3 separate regions of the Homo sapiens genome follow, and all the other regions are linked to region 1. Evidence: promoter capture Hi-C in human tissues and cell types (Jung and others, 2019). All regions are on one chromosome and are shown on one strand. The core of a region is centred on a gene start or on the middle of the fragment in contact, and the rest is flanking DNA. Distances in the headings are between cores, read along the strand shown.

Region 1 (4,451 bases), core at 638-3,137:
CGCTTGAACCAGGAGGTGGAGGTTGCAGTGAGCCGAGATGGTGCCATTGCACTCCAGCCTGGGCAACAAGAGTGAAACTCAGTCTCAAAAACAACAACAAAAAACCTCCACGTATGGCCATAAACCACCCTTAAACCTGGGGATAAGGGTTGGAGACAGCATGCTGTACCGCTGCTAGGGTTTTGGACATGGTTTCCTGAGAGACCTTTATGCTCTGGGTCCTTCAAACCAGTCACATGGGGTTTGTGGGCACTATCTGCAGACCCACTGTTTTCAGACCCAGACAGGATGGAAAGTGGAGGCAGCATCTCTAGGTGAGTCTGGAGCAGCAGTGACAACTCAGCAGAACCTGTGTCAAGTCCTCATAGAAAAGGGAAAATAAGCTAGGATTCCCTCCCCGCTCCACTTTCTCCTCTGTCTCTTAAATAAAACAAGGGTTTGTGACCACTGGCCTTAAGTGCACAGAACTCCTACCTTCCTTGCCCAGGAACAAAACACTGAGTAGTTCTTATAACAGTCCACACGTCTGTCCTATTGCACTGTCAGATCTGAAGGGGAAAAACTTGATGAGATGTTTGGGGAAGTGGCAAGGGCAGACCCACTGTAGAGGCCACAGCACGTCACAGAGGACTGAAGGGGCTGAGGCGAGAGGGAGGTTGGGCAGAACTGTTACACATCGGTCCTCCAACTCTGATGAGCCTCTACCTCTTCTGGTACCACCAGCAGGAGTTCACAGTTCTTTCCTCGCAAATGATGTTTTAGAAACTTCCTATGGAAAAAGAGATAGAGAAAATGAAATGCTGGCAAGTTGCAAATTCCAGTCTCAGGACCACAAAGTCACCTGAAACCTCACTCTACCCTCGGCAGTCCAAAACACATCCCTGTAGTCATCTGGTTTTGGAGGGTTCCACATTTGGTTACCCTCCAATCTGTCCAGTTAAAATTCCAACCTGAATTTTGCTCATCCTTGTAGTTACTGCCAAGAGTAGCTGGATCTGTGAATAACAGTACCCAAAGTATATAAAGGACTTTTTCTTGGTTTGTTTGGAGACGGAGTTTCGCTCTTGTCGCCTGGGCTGGAGTGCAATGGCATGATCTCGGCTCACTGCAACCTCTGCCTCCCAGGTTCAAGTGATTCTCCTGCCTCAGCCTCCTGACCAGCTGGGATTACAGGCGTCCGCCACCACGCCTGGCTAATTTTTGTATTTTTAGTAGAGACAGAGTTTCACCGTGTTGGTCAGGCTGGTCTCGAACTCCTGACCTCAGGTGATCCACCCGCCTTGGCCTCCCAAAGTGCTGAGATTACAGGCGTGAGCAATCGCCTCTAAAGAACTTTTACAAATGTTCTTTGGTCCTGGGGAAATTCAGTGCTCCCTGGCCTGCATGTTTGTCTTCCTTTCTATGAACTGGCAACTACACTGTCTCAGTTGTCTTAAATAGAGAGAACGTTACAATGCCAGCCCCACCAGACTAGAAGGCTGGTATCCCAGGCTGGGCATCTTCCCTACCAAAAGGACTTAAAAGTACTGATGCGCCATTGAAGATTAAGGTCAGGTCCGAGACACTATGATTCTAAGGCAGGGAGAGAATCCAAGGGCACAGGAATTTCATTTCCTTTGTCAAATAACCAGAGATGAGCTCAGTGTCCCCAACCTAAGAAATGAAGCAGCCTAGCAACTTAGTCACAAAAGGTGCCGATTACCTGAGCTCGCTCTCGCCTCCAATCCACTCGGGCATCTTGAGTTTGGAGTCGAGGTTGTAGTAGGCCCCTCCCACCTCTCGAACACAGATCCAGTGCTGCCTTTTGAGGGGCAGTTTCAGTGGACCCCAGCATAGGCTGGAGGGCAGATTCATGATGAAGCCCATGACGTTAGTGAGGGCAATGACACCGACATCCCTGCAGGGGAGAAATGGTGGCAGGCTCTGATGCAGCCCATTTTCCAAGGTTCCCTGGCTGTAATACCACAACTGGCTACCTCCCCACTCATGCCATGAGCCCAAGTACTAAAAGCTTATACCACAACCGTGCTGTTCTCCATCAAGTCAAGCCTGATTCAGATTACCTGCGCTTGTCCCACCAAACAGCTTCATAGCCTTTGGTCTGAAGTGCTGCCATAATGACATTCACATCGTAGTTGCCATTTCCCAGCATGCTCTTCTTGTGAGGTGTCACCATGGTGTTTGGAGACAACCTACCAATGTGAAAAGAGGAGGGCTGAGACTTGCTGGATGCCTGAACCCCCTGACCCCGCACTACCAGGGATGGAGAGCACTTTACATCACTGCCCCTGGAAGTTAGTTTCCCCACATTCAAGTGCAATTTCCCCAGCTTCTACCTAAGTATTTTGTAAGTGTTCCATGAAGGTGACTCACTTATGAAATCCCAGCCTCCTGCAGCCTTTCTGCTCTTCCTCCTGATACTGATTTTCCTGCCTCATGCAAGCCTTTTTTTTTTTTAACATTGGAAAATAGGATTCAATCTTTTCATTTGCATGGATAGTAACTGGTGTCACTCCTGCTTTCTAGTTAAGGCCTGCAAACTTGGTAATCATTAATCATTAAATACTCAAAGGCATACAGGAGCCTAGACAGGTGACATAAATGTATAAACTGGGGTTGGATATAAGGCAATAAAAAGTAGTGAGGCCTACTGGAATGCACGACCCACCTAAAGGCATTCTGTGTGTGTGTGTGTGTGTGTGTGTGTGTGTGTGTAGTACTTGAATAAATTTTTCTTAAAATACCCAATAAATCAACTGAAAAAAAATTTGTGCCAGGCAAACAAAACTCAGCTGCAGCACTGGTTTGCCCACCCAGCTTGAAGCCATTTACTTCCAGGTTTCTTTAGCCAGTCTGTATTTTAAGACAAGGTCCATGCTGAAGGCATTTCTAATTCTATTATTTTACCTTCATAAACTTGTCAGGCCAGGAGCTGGGGAAAGGCCATTTTGAAGGAAGGGTTCAAGGGGCATACCTTTGGGCTTCGTGTGAAGGGGAGAAAGGGAAGTGTGGCGAGTTCCTCAGGACATAAAGTGCATGATCAAGAGGCTACTACATGCCATCTCCAGAAAAGAATCAAGACGTTAGGCCAAGGATGTCAACTCTAAAAAACTTAAGAAATCTTGTATTTTTAAAATTTTTCTGTGCACAGCAGAAATACTGGTATTTTTTTTCTTTCTTTTTTTTTTGAGTCGGAGTCTTGCTCTGTCGCCCAGGCTGGAGTGTGATGGCGCGATCTCAGCCCACTGCAACCTCCGTCTCCTGCGTTCAAGTGATTCTCTTGCCTTAGCCTCCCAAGTAGCTGGGATTACAGGCACCCGCCACCACGCCCACCTAATTTTTGTATTTTTAGTTGAGATGGGGTTTCACTACGTTGGCCAGGCTGGTTGGTCTCGAACTCCTAACCTTGTGATCCACCCGCCTCAGCCTCCCAAAGTGCTGGGATTACAGGTGTGAGCCACTGAACTCAGCAATACTGGTATTTTTCAAATATAAAACATACTCCTGGCCAGGCGCGGTGGCTCATGCTTGTAATTCCGGCACTCTGGGAGGCTGAGGTGGGCAGATCACTTGAGGTCAGGAGTTCAAGACCAGCCTGGGTAACATGGTGAAACCCCGTCTCTACTAAAAATACAAAAATTAGCCAGGCGTGGTGGTGCACGCCTGTAGTCTCAACTACTCAGGAGACTGAGGCAGCTAACTGCTTGAACGTAGGAGGCAGAGGCTGCAGTGAGCCGAACATAGGAGGCAGAGGCTGGATGTCACCACTGCATCCAGCCTGGGTGACAGAGTGAGACTCCGTCTCAAAAAACAAACCAACAAACAAAACAAAACAAAACCCCATGCTCCTGGCCGGGAGTGGTGGCTCACACCTGCAATCCCAGCACTTTGGGAGGCCAAGGTGGGAGTATCGCTTGAGCCTGGGAGTTAGAGACCAGCTTGGGCAACATGGCAAAACACTGTCTCTGCAAAAAATACAAAAATTAGGCGGGCATGGTGGCATGTGCCTATGGTCCCAGCTACTCGGGAGGCTGAGGTGGGAAGATCACCTGAGCCAGGGAAGTCAAGGCTGTGGTGAGCCATGACTGCACTCCAGCCTGGGTGATAGAGTAAGACCCTGTCTCAAAAAAAAAGAAAAAAAAAAAAAACCCACAGAATTAAAAACAACAAACATACTCCTGCCACTGCTTAAAACCTTCTGATGGCACCTAAAGCACTTAAATACACTCTAAACTACTTCCTTTGGCATGCAAGGCCCTCAAGGTCCTGCAGATCTCATCTCTTACCTTTTATTACACTGACCTTCTTACTGTTCCCTAAAAACAAAGCTCTTTTTCTCACTGTGCACTCATGCACTCACTGTTCCCGCTGTCTAGAATGTTCTTTCTGTAGTTCCTTATTGTTTGGGTGTCAAATGTTACTGCCATAGAGAGGCCTTTTCTTTTTCTTTT
Region 2 (4,451 bases), core at 520-3,019, 740 kb before region 1:
TGAGATGGAGCTTCCATCTTGTTGCCCAGGCTGGAGTGCAGTGGCGCGACCTCAGCTCACTGCAATCTCCACCTCCTGGGTTCAAGGAATTCTCCTGCCTCAGCCTCCCAAGTAGCTGGGATTACAGACATGCGCCACCACGCCCGGCTAATTTTGTACTTTTAGTAGAGACTGGGTTTCTCCATGTTGGTCAGGCTGGTCGTGAACTCCTAACCTCAGGTGATCTGCCCACCTTGGCCTCCCAAAGTGCTGGGATTACCGGTTTGAGCCACCTCATTTTCTTTCACTGCTGTATCCCCAGCACCTAAAACAGAGTCTAAGGCACATGGTAGACTTAAAAATGTTGTTGTTGGAAAAAAACAAAAAAGTTGTTGAGTAAAAGAACACATGAATACTTGTTCATCATGTTTCAGGGGCTGGAGCTACAATTGTGGGCCGAAACAGGCACGGTTCCTGCCTGATGAAATTCATGATCTGGAGGGATAGATGGGACACCAAATAACTGACTACAGCTTGTGCTAAGCCCAGTGAAGGAAAATGTGTGAGGGCACATAACAGTTGATCCTACTGTGGTGGTGAGGAGCAGAAGTCTTCCTCGGGAAAGTTGAAAGTGTGATCTAAAGGATGCATAGGAGTTAACTACTCTAAAAATTTTAGTTCTTTGACTTTTGGCAAGGTGTAGCACCTTGAACCTTCCCCTCCCCCCCGCCCCGCCCCGCCCCCGAATAAGGCATATGCAGTAGAATTTTGAAGCTTTCTGAACCCCAGGCTCCTTATCTGTAAAGGAAAATAGTGCTAAGCCACAGGTCAGGTACGGGGGAACTGAGTTACAGAGGGTAACTACCACCATTCTTCTCTCATCCTTTAACTCAGGGGTCCCCAACCCTCCGTCCGTGGACTGGTACCAGTCCCTGGCCTGTTAGGAACCGGGCCGCACAGCAGGAGGTGAGCGGCAGGCTAGCGAGCCTCACCGCCTCCTTTCAGGTCAGTGACGGCCTTAGATTCTCATAGGAGCGCGAACCCTATTGTGAACTGCGCACGCGAGGGATCTAGGTTGCACGCTCCTTATGAGAATCTAACTAATACCTGATGATCTGAGGTGGAACAGTTTCATCCCGAAACCATTCCCCACACCTCCGTCAGTGGAAAAATTGTCTTCCACGAAACCGGTCCCTGGTGCCAAAAAGGCTGGGATCGCTGCTTTAACGGACTGACCTCTGAGCAGCTCGCAGGTCCCCGGGGTGTAAGTGATGGTCTTGGGGCGGCGCCGGAACCCAGTTCCTTTGGTCACTACCTCCATCTGCTTCTGTGAAGCCATGGGAGGACTCTGAGGAGGGAAAGACGCAATGACACACCCCCTGTCTCCTGTCCCTAATCTCTGTTCCCCGACGCCCAACACCCCCAGAAGTCTGGAAGCGGGGATCGAGCCAGAGAATGATGCCGCCAGTTAATATTGCGACAGTGCCCAAACCTCCCATCCAGACACACAGATACACACACACAGTCCTCATTCTGACCCAGCGCCTGTGGCAGGGAAGTCTCCTCGGGAGGGAGTGTTAACACAGCCATGGTCACAACAGTACCCACTGAGTGATATGCCAAAATTGAAATTTCACCCTAAGACCCTCTCTGGGTGCTCCCCTCTCCACATAGAAGTGGGCTCCCGGAGGCGGTGACCACTGCTTTACAGCCGCATCCGCACCGGTGCCACGCAGAAATACTGCGCGATCTGGGCTGCTGGAGCTGGCAGCTAGCGCCTCTCGCTACTATAGAAACGCGCACACACCAGTCAGCGCATGCGCACTTTCCCCGCTCTGTCCTGCCTCCCGGAAGTGATTTCCTCTGGGTTACGGCGCAGGCGCAAGATAAGCTAGGAGCCGCGCGAGTCGTAGTGTCGCTGTTTGCGGGTCTCCGCGCGGGACCGGGGCGCAGCGGGGTCGCTGAGGCGAGGGTGTCATGTCAGACAACGAGGACAAGTGAGTGCGGGAGCGGAGTGGCCTTTGCGGCAACCTTGGAAGGGGCGGATGAGGCAAGGCTTGGGTCGGCTGAGGAGCCTGGCGTCTAGGGGCAATGTCTGAGGGGACTGGGGTCCTGAGGGGGCCGGCGGAGCCGAGGAAGGGAAGGGCGGGCGACCCAGGAGCACAGCCCCGGCTGGAGGCACAGGAGGGCCCAGGCTCGAGGGTCCAGAGGGGATCCGTAGAAAAGGTGTCCTTCAGCAAATGTTCCAGCGAGCCGGGCTCTGTATCATGCAGTGGGAATATTGAGGTGAATGAACAATCGTCCCTGCCTCTCCACGTGCTCACTTTCTAGAAAAGGGGTCACAGGCCCATAAGTAAGCAAGCAAGCAGGTAACGGTGGTCGCGTGAGCTTCCCCAGTTCTAGACGTATGTAGTATAGGAGTACTCCAGAGGAGGGTCTGGGGCAGCTCCACCGGGTGGCATTAAATAAAAGTCTGGGACGGTCCTTTGCAGTAATTTTTTTTTTTTTTTGAAACAGAGTCTTGCTCTGTCGCCCAGGCTGGAGTGCAGTGGCGCGATCTCGGCTCACTGCAGCCTCCACCTCCGGGGTTCAAGGGATTCTCCTGCCTCAGCCTCCCGACTAGCTGGGATTATGGGCGTGCACCACCACGCCTTGCTAATTGCTTGTAGTTTTAGTAGAGACGGGTTTCACCATGTTGGCCAGACTGGCCTCGAACTCCTGAGCTTGTGATCCACCCGCCTCGGCCTCCCAAAGTGCTGGGATCACAGGCGTGAGCCACCGTGCCCGGCCTGCTTGTAGTAATCTAGATGAGAGAAGTCAGTAGCTTATAGTAGGGTGGTAGGAGTAGAGGTGGTGAGAACTGGTTTTGAATTCTGGATATATTACTATTTTAAAGATAGAGCCCAAAAATTACCTGTGGGATATGTGGGTGCAAAGAGAGCTAGTCTGAAGATAAAAATAAGAAACGTGTGGGATTGCTACCCCATTCCCAGTGAGTGTCAGTAGAGAAGAGGAGATGACCCGTGGCTGAGCATTAGGGCATTTGGACATTGAGTGCTTGGGGGAAAAGAGAAGCCGGGGAGGTGGGGGAACACCAAGAGGGTGAGGTGTCCTTGGAGTCAAGTGAGGAGAGCAAGTGGCCTAATGTGCCAGCTGATAGATCAGGCTAAATGAGAAGGAGAGTTGGCCATTGGATTTAGCAACGTGGAGATCATTAATGAGCTTGGAAAGTGGTTTTGATGGAGCTGTTGGGGTGAAAGGCTTTTTGGAGTGAGATTATGACAAAATGGGAAGAGAGGAAGATAGTGAGGGTGGACAGCTCTTTCACACATTTTTGCTTCAAAGGACACCATGGAATTAGGGCTATAGGGGGAGAGAGAAGAGAAATAAGGGTTTTTTTTTTTTTTTTTTTAGATGAGGAAAAGCACATGTTGAAATGCTGATGGGGCCGGGTGCTGTGGCTTACACCTCTAATCCCAGCACTTTGGGAGGCCGAGGAGGGTGGATCACCTGAGGCCAGGAGTTCGAGACCAGCCTGGTCAACATGGTGAAACCCCATCTTTACTAAAAATACAAAAATTAGCTGGGCATGGTGGCGTGTGCCTATAATCCCAGCTACTCGGGAGGCTGAGACAGGAGAATTGCTTGAACCCAGGAGGCAGAGGTTGCAGTGAGCCAAGATCACGCCATTGCACTCCATCCTGGACAACAGAGCGAGACTTTGTCTCAAAAAAAAAAAAAATGCTGATGGGAATGATCCAGTAGAGAGGGAAACAGTGATGATGAATGAGTACTAGCAATATTTGGGGGCAGATGGGGAAAAATTGAAGGGGTAAAATGGAACAAAAGTCGGATTTACTTCTTCTTCTTATTATTATTTTTTATTTTTTGAGAAGGAGTCTCGCTGTGTCACCCAGGCTGGAGTGCAGTGGGGTGACCGTGGCTCAGTGCACCCTCCGCCTCTCGGGTTCAAGCAATTCTTGTGCCTCAGCCTCCTGAGTAGCTGGGATTACAGGCGCCCACCACCACACCCGGCTAATTTTTTTGTATTTTTAGCAGAGACGAGATTTCTCCATGTTGGCCAGGCTGGTCTTGGACTCCTGACCTCAAGTGATGCACCCACCTCGGCCTCTCAAAGTGCTGGGATTACAGACGTGAGCCACTGCACTCAGCTGATTTACTTATTAAGTAAATATTTATTGAGTGCTTCCTACATACTGGGCGAGACACAGATCTCTGCCCTCTTTGATTTTTTTTTTGTTTGTTTTTTGTTTTGCGGTGGCGGGGGGGGGTTTTGAGACGGAGTTTCACTCTTGTTGCCCAGGCTGGAGTGCAATGGCGTGATCTCAGCTCACCACAACCTCCGCCTCCTGGGTTCAAGTGATTCTCCTGCCTCAGCCTCCCAAGTAGTTGGGATTACAGGCATGTGCCACCACCACTCCCGGCTAATTTTGTATTTTTAGTAGAGACGG
Region 3 (4,451 bases), core at 1,329-3,828, 600 kb before region 1:
CAGAGGCCGCCGCCGCTCGAAGTACAGCCCCAGCATGATGAGCGACGGCTGGAAGTTGAGGGCCAGGCCCAGGCCTGCGGGCGAGGCGGTGCTGTGCCGGGGTCCCCGGAGAGCCCCTCCCTGGCCCCCACAGGAGGGAGGGGCCAGGCCCGGGAACCCAGCAGATCCGGGAACCCAGCCGAGGGACTTCGAAGACTGTCCCTCATAGGGAAACCGAGGACAGATCTTGCAGCAAGAACCCCCGACCCCCAACCCAGCGGAGAGGAGACCAGGGGGCCCTCACCTGTGAGCACCCCAGCGGTCAGGTAGAGCTCCAGGAGGCGCGTGGCAAAGGAAGCTAGGATCATGCCCGCGGAAGCCAGCAGCCCACCCGCCAGCATCACCGGGCGACAGCCAAAGCGGGTCACGAGGATGCTGGACACGGGGCCTGTGGGCAGGGCAGGGTCACCACCCGGGTCCCGGGATGGCTTGAGTCCTCTAAGGAATAAGGTCACCTCCGGCTCAGGGACACAGAGAGGAGGGCAGTGTCTGGCCAAGGTCACACAGCTTGGAGGGGACAGGCCAAAGAGACAGCATCCTGCGAGGGCAAGGCCCAGAGCACCCCATCCTGCGAACCCAAACCCCAAGCGGAGCGGGGGCTTCCGCACCCCTTTAACCTTCACAGCCTCCAAGTCCCGCCCTGGCACAGACTGGGATTCCTCCGCAGCCCCGCCTCCCAGGATGGGAACTCCAGCAAGCCCCCACCTACAGGTCAGGGCTGCGGGGAGGGGGAGTGCTTCTGTGGCTCTCAGCTTTCCTGCCTCTACAATGGGCGGGTGTGGTCTTAGAAGGGGCCCTCTGAGCTCGCAGGGCAGCCCCCTGGGCCGGCCCCGCCTCTGGCCGCTGTCTCCCTCCCGCCCTCTCTTCCCCTCTTTCTGGTGCCAGGGTTCCCACAGGCAGGAAGGGACTTCGGGGGCCACCCCGAGGGTCAGGGGGATGCTCAGGGGCTCGGGTGTCTCCTGGTTCCGGATCCCAGGGGTCCCGGGGAGGCGGAGGGCCGGGCGGGGACACTGACCCGTGCCGTAGAGCATGGCTAGCATGATGGAGGACACCCAGGCCGTGTCGCTGTAGCCGGCGTCGAAGTCGCGCATGAGCGCGCGGAAGAAGACGCTCACGGCTTTGGGGAAGCCGTAGGCGAAGCCGGTGACCACAAAGCAGGCGCCCAGCACCACCCAGCCCCAGCCGCCGTCTGGGGGGCCCTCGCCCCGCCGGGGGCCGCCAGCGCCCATCGCTGCCTCTGTTGGGAGGGGGCGGGGACAAGAGGGAGGGGCTGGGCCAGCAGCCTAGAGAAGGAGGGGGATGGAGACGAAGCATGGGGAAACTGAGGCACAGGGCTACCCACGTGAGGGTGGCTCAGGTCTGGGAACCAAAAGGGGAAACGGAGGTAGGACTCTCACCCCAAGTCTCCTTCTCCTGCAAAGGGCGCTGAAGGACGAGGGGAGGACGACGGGTCCCACCTGACTCTGCACCTCTGCAGGCTCCCTCTGAAGGACAACTGCTGGCCCCTCAGGGCCTCAGGTGGAAGGCGTCGGGAAGTGGAGCAGGTATGTGCCTGGAGGTGGGCGTCCAGCACCAAAGTCGCCCCGTACGCGTGAGGGTCTCGGGACAACAGAACAAACAGCAGAGGGGCAGATGCCGGCTGCAAAGGGCCGCTGTGCGTGATTTTCCTCTTTAGCCTTCCGCCATGTTCCTAATGTTTCTCAGTGATCACAAATGACTATTGTCATTAGAACATTAAGGGGACAAAAGCCACTTTCAACAGATATCAGCCAGGGGAGCTGAGTTCCCATGCATCTCAGCTCAGCCATGGATTCCCTCCCTGACTTGGGCCGGTCGCCTCCCCTCTCCCAACCTCCCTTTCCTCCGATGTAAGATGGGTGATTGATCACCCCGAGGCCAGCTGGGAATCTTGCGGGAGAGGAGTCAGGTCTCTGGCTTCTGCCAGACAGGTAGGAACCTTAGCAGCACTGAGAGAGTGGCCTTCTGCCCTCCAAACCTCAAACCCTCTATATGAAAAGAATGGCTCCAAAGCCTGTCTCATTCCTGGGGCTCCACCCGGGGCCCTCACAGCAGTTACAAGCGCCCCCATAACAGATGAGGAGGGTGTACTCAGAGACAGGTGCACCAGGAGCCGGGGGCTGGGGATAGCCTCCTGCCCTCCTGCCTGGAGTGTCCCTCCTGGCACTGGGCAGTGCCACCACCCCCAGGGTATCCGGGACTCTGCCCCTCCTCCACTAGGACCAGGTTGTGGCTTTTCCTGCCTGTTGTCCTCTTGTCACAGGGGCAGCCACTTGAAGGTGGAGACAGGAGGGTGATCCCAGGCAGCCCTCACATCACACTCACCTGAGCCTGCCTCGTGGGTTTGGGGGTCCAGCCTCACATCTCCTGAGGCCTGCAGGGAGGGGCCGCCGCCGCAGCTCCCGGTGAAGCTTACCCGGATGGGGGCTGCCAGACACCCCAGCTTCCCACCAGCCTGGGCTGAGCCTCTGGCCGACTCCCGCCTGACGCTCCCTGCCCCAGGCCTGGAGCTTAGAGTGTGTGCCCCCACCACACCTCACCCCTGCTAAGAGGCTTTTGTCCAGGAGGGGAGAAGAGACTGGGAGCCCCAGGCCAGGCTGGGCCTCGGCGGTGGGCTCCCTGTCCCAAGCCAGTCCAGGAGGGAGGAAGAGAATCCCTGTGCCTCCTGGAGCCTGGGGTGGTAGACACAGAGACCTTGCCCAGGGGGTCCTAGTCTGGTGCTGGGGGCACAGCCCTGCCCTGAAGAGACCCCAACGGTTCTAATCACCTCAGTGCCTCATCTGCCCCCGCCCCAACCCCCCGCCCCAGGCCACATTCCAGGAGGGGCTGGCAGCTTTCTCTAGAATGAAGCTAATCCACGCCTGTGCCTGGGAATGTGGGGGGGGGAGGGGCCAAAACAAAGGGTGCTGTGTCCAGGCCGCCTGAGGGCAGCTTGCTGGTGGTCCCAGCCCTTGGCCACTGCCACCTCTCCCCTGACCCGAGCAGCCGCTACTTCCTAGGAAACCCACAGGTCGAAATGAGAGCAGGTGGAGATGGGGGCTGCAGCGCGAGGGCTTTGGGGCAGCCCTAAAGAGTTCTCCAAACAAACAAACAAGGGGCTGGGAGTGAGATGGCTTCCCGGGGAACAGCCAGGACCTCAGTACCCCCTAGACCCCATTCTCCAATGGGGGAGTCTCTATCCCTCACCCCCTGCCCTGTCCCCCAAATAAGACACCACCAGTCCTGCTGCCGCATCACTTTGCGTCCACTTCCTTTATTTCTCATCATTTACAAAAGATGTACAGAGAGGGCATGTGTTGGGCACGGAGCAGGTACAAGGGGCTCCTCCCCACGGGGGCAGAAAAGGGGGAAAGAGGTTAGGGGGCAAGAGGTGGGCCCCCCAGGGAGAGTCCTGGAGCCCCTGGAGGGGGAGAAATTGTCCTGTCCCCCCATTCCGCCTGCTTTACTTTGAAGGTCTCGGACCCCAAGCCAGTGCTTTGGAGCTGCTCAGGCTGCCGGGGTGGTCTGGGGAGGGCAGCCACCCCCCGTCTCAGGGACCCGCTTCTTGGATCTGCTGCTGTTGCTGCTGTCGCTGCCATTGCCAGCTCTGAACAGCCCCTGGGCAGGTGCACTGTGGGGTACGACCTCGGACCCCGCCTCAGCGGATGAGGGGTGCTGAGCGGTCATTGGTGATGGTGGGACGAAGCTTGACAGTGGCAAAAGGATTTGTGCCCCTGTAGGAGGAGAGAGAGAATGGGGTGAGAAGGGCAGATGATCCCCACCTGGCCATGGCTCAGGAAGGCAGCTGGGCAACTGAGCTGGGTCCTGCCTCCTGCCCCTATTTGGTCTCCATCCACTCCTTGCCCCGCTTCATCTTTTTTTTTCTTTTAAGAGATAGGGTCTCACAGTGTTGCTCAAGCTGATGTTGAACTGTTGGAATCAAGAGATCCTCCTGCCCCAGTCTCCCTAGTAGCTGGGACTACAAGTGTGTGCCGCCGCACCTGCCACCCTCCTCACTGTTTGGGCCCCCATGTGAGGACTCACCTCGGGAAGAGCTCCTGTGGTGGGTACTGCTCTGAGGACATCAGTTTCTGCAGTGGGGGTGGGGAAGGGCTGGTTTGGTGGGGAGAGGGGCAAGCAATCCCTTGCTCCTCCCCTCCCTCTCCCCATGCCCAAGGGCAGAGGACTGGGCCAGAGAGCCCCTGCCATGCCAGGCTCCTGGAAAATGAGACCCTGACGTTCTGAAGCCCAGAATTCTGTGGGTTGCAGAAGTGAGAAACCCCTAGGCCAGAGCACCACCTCCAAGGACTAACCACGCCCCCAGGATAAGACCGGGGTGGCTCCATCGGAGATGCCCTCCCTGGCCTCCCCCAGCCCCGTCCTACTGGCTAGCCCCAGGCCACACCCTGTCCTGG

What was found. The method cuts DNA at HindIII sites, captures the fragments that hold promoters and counts their contacts. A contact is called where the count stands out against the background at its distance.
Region 2: a contact is called between the fragment with the promoter of C22orf23 here and a fragment that was not itself captured in region 1, in 1 of the 25 tissues and cell types used here (dorsolateral prefrontal cortex).
Region 3: a contact is called between the fragment with the promoter of SLC16A8 here and a fragment that was not itself captured in region 1, in 1 of the 25 tissues and cell types used here (dorsolateral prefrontal cortex).

Annotation. Positions count from the first base shown.
Region 1 is chr22:38,687,233-38,691,683 of GRCh38, forward strand. JOSD1 (Josephin domain containing 1) reads right to left here. Exons shown (of 5, transcript NM_001360236.2): 3 at 2,064-2,192; 4 at 1,703-1,897; 5 at 1-769. The coding sequence ends at 670. Among named protein-coding and RNA genes, the nearest start is that of TOMM22, 7.5 kb to the left of the region's middle. The HindIII fragment of the contact is 8,429 bases long and covers 1-4,451 here.
Region 2 is chr22:37,951,832-37,956,282 of GRCh38, forward strand. C22orf23 (chromosome 22 open reading frame 23) reads right to left here and starts at 1,770. Exons shown (of 7, transcript NM_032561.5): 1 at 1,617-1,770; 2 at 1,216-1,327. The coding sequence starts at 1,318. POLR2F (RNA polymerase II, I and III subunit F) reads left to right here and starts at 1,868. Exons shown (of 5, transcript NM_021974.5): 1 at 1,868-1,976. The coding sequence starts at 1,957. RefSeq lists a silencer at 2,034-2,103. The HindIII fragment of the contact is 12,825 bases long and covers 1-4,451 here.
Region 3 is chr22:38,081,606-38,086,056 of GRCh38, forward strand. It overlaps SLC16A8 (solute carrier family 16 member 8), which reads right to left and starts at 2,579. Exons shown (of 6, transcript NM_013356.3): 1 at 2,383-2,579; 2 at 1,437-1,756; 3 at 1,055-1,276; 4 at 284-427; 5 at 1-74. The coding sequence starts at 1,268. It overlaps BAIAP2L2 (BAR/IMD domain containing adaptor protein 2 like 2), which reads right to left. Exons shown (of 14, transcript NM_025045.6): 13 at 4,081-4,127; 14 at 3,295-3,770. The coding sequence ends at 3,695. RefSeq lists a silencer at 1,038-1,087 and enhancers at 2,063-2,844, 4,405-4,451. The HindIII fragment of the contact is 9,296 bases long and covers 1-4,451 here.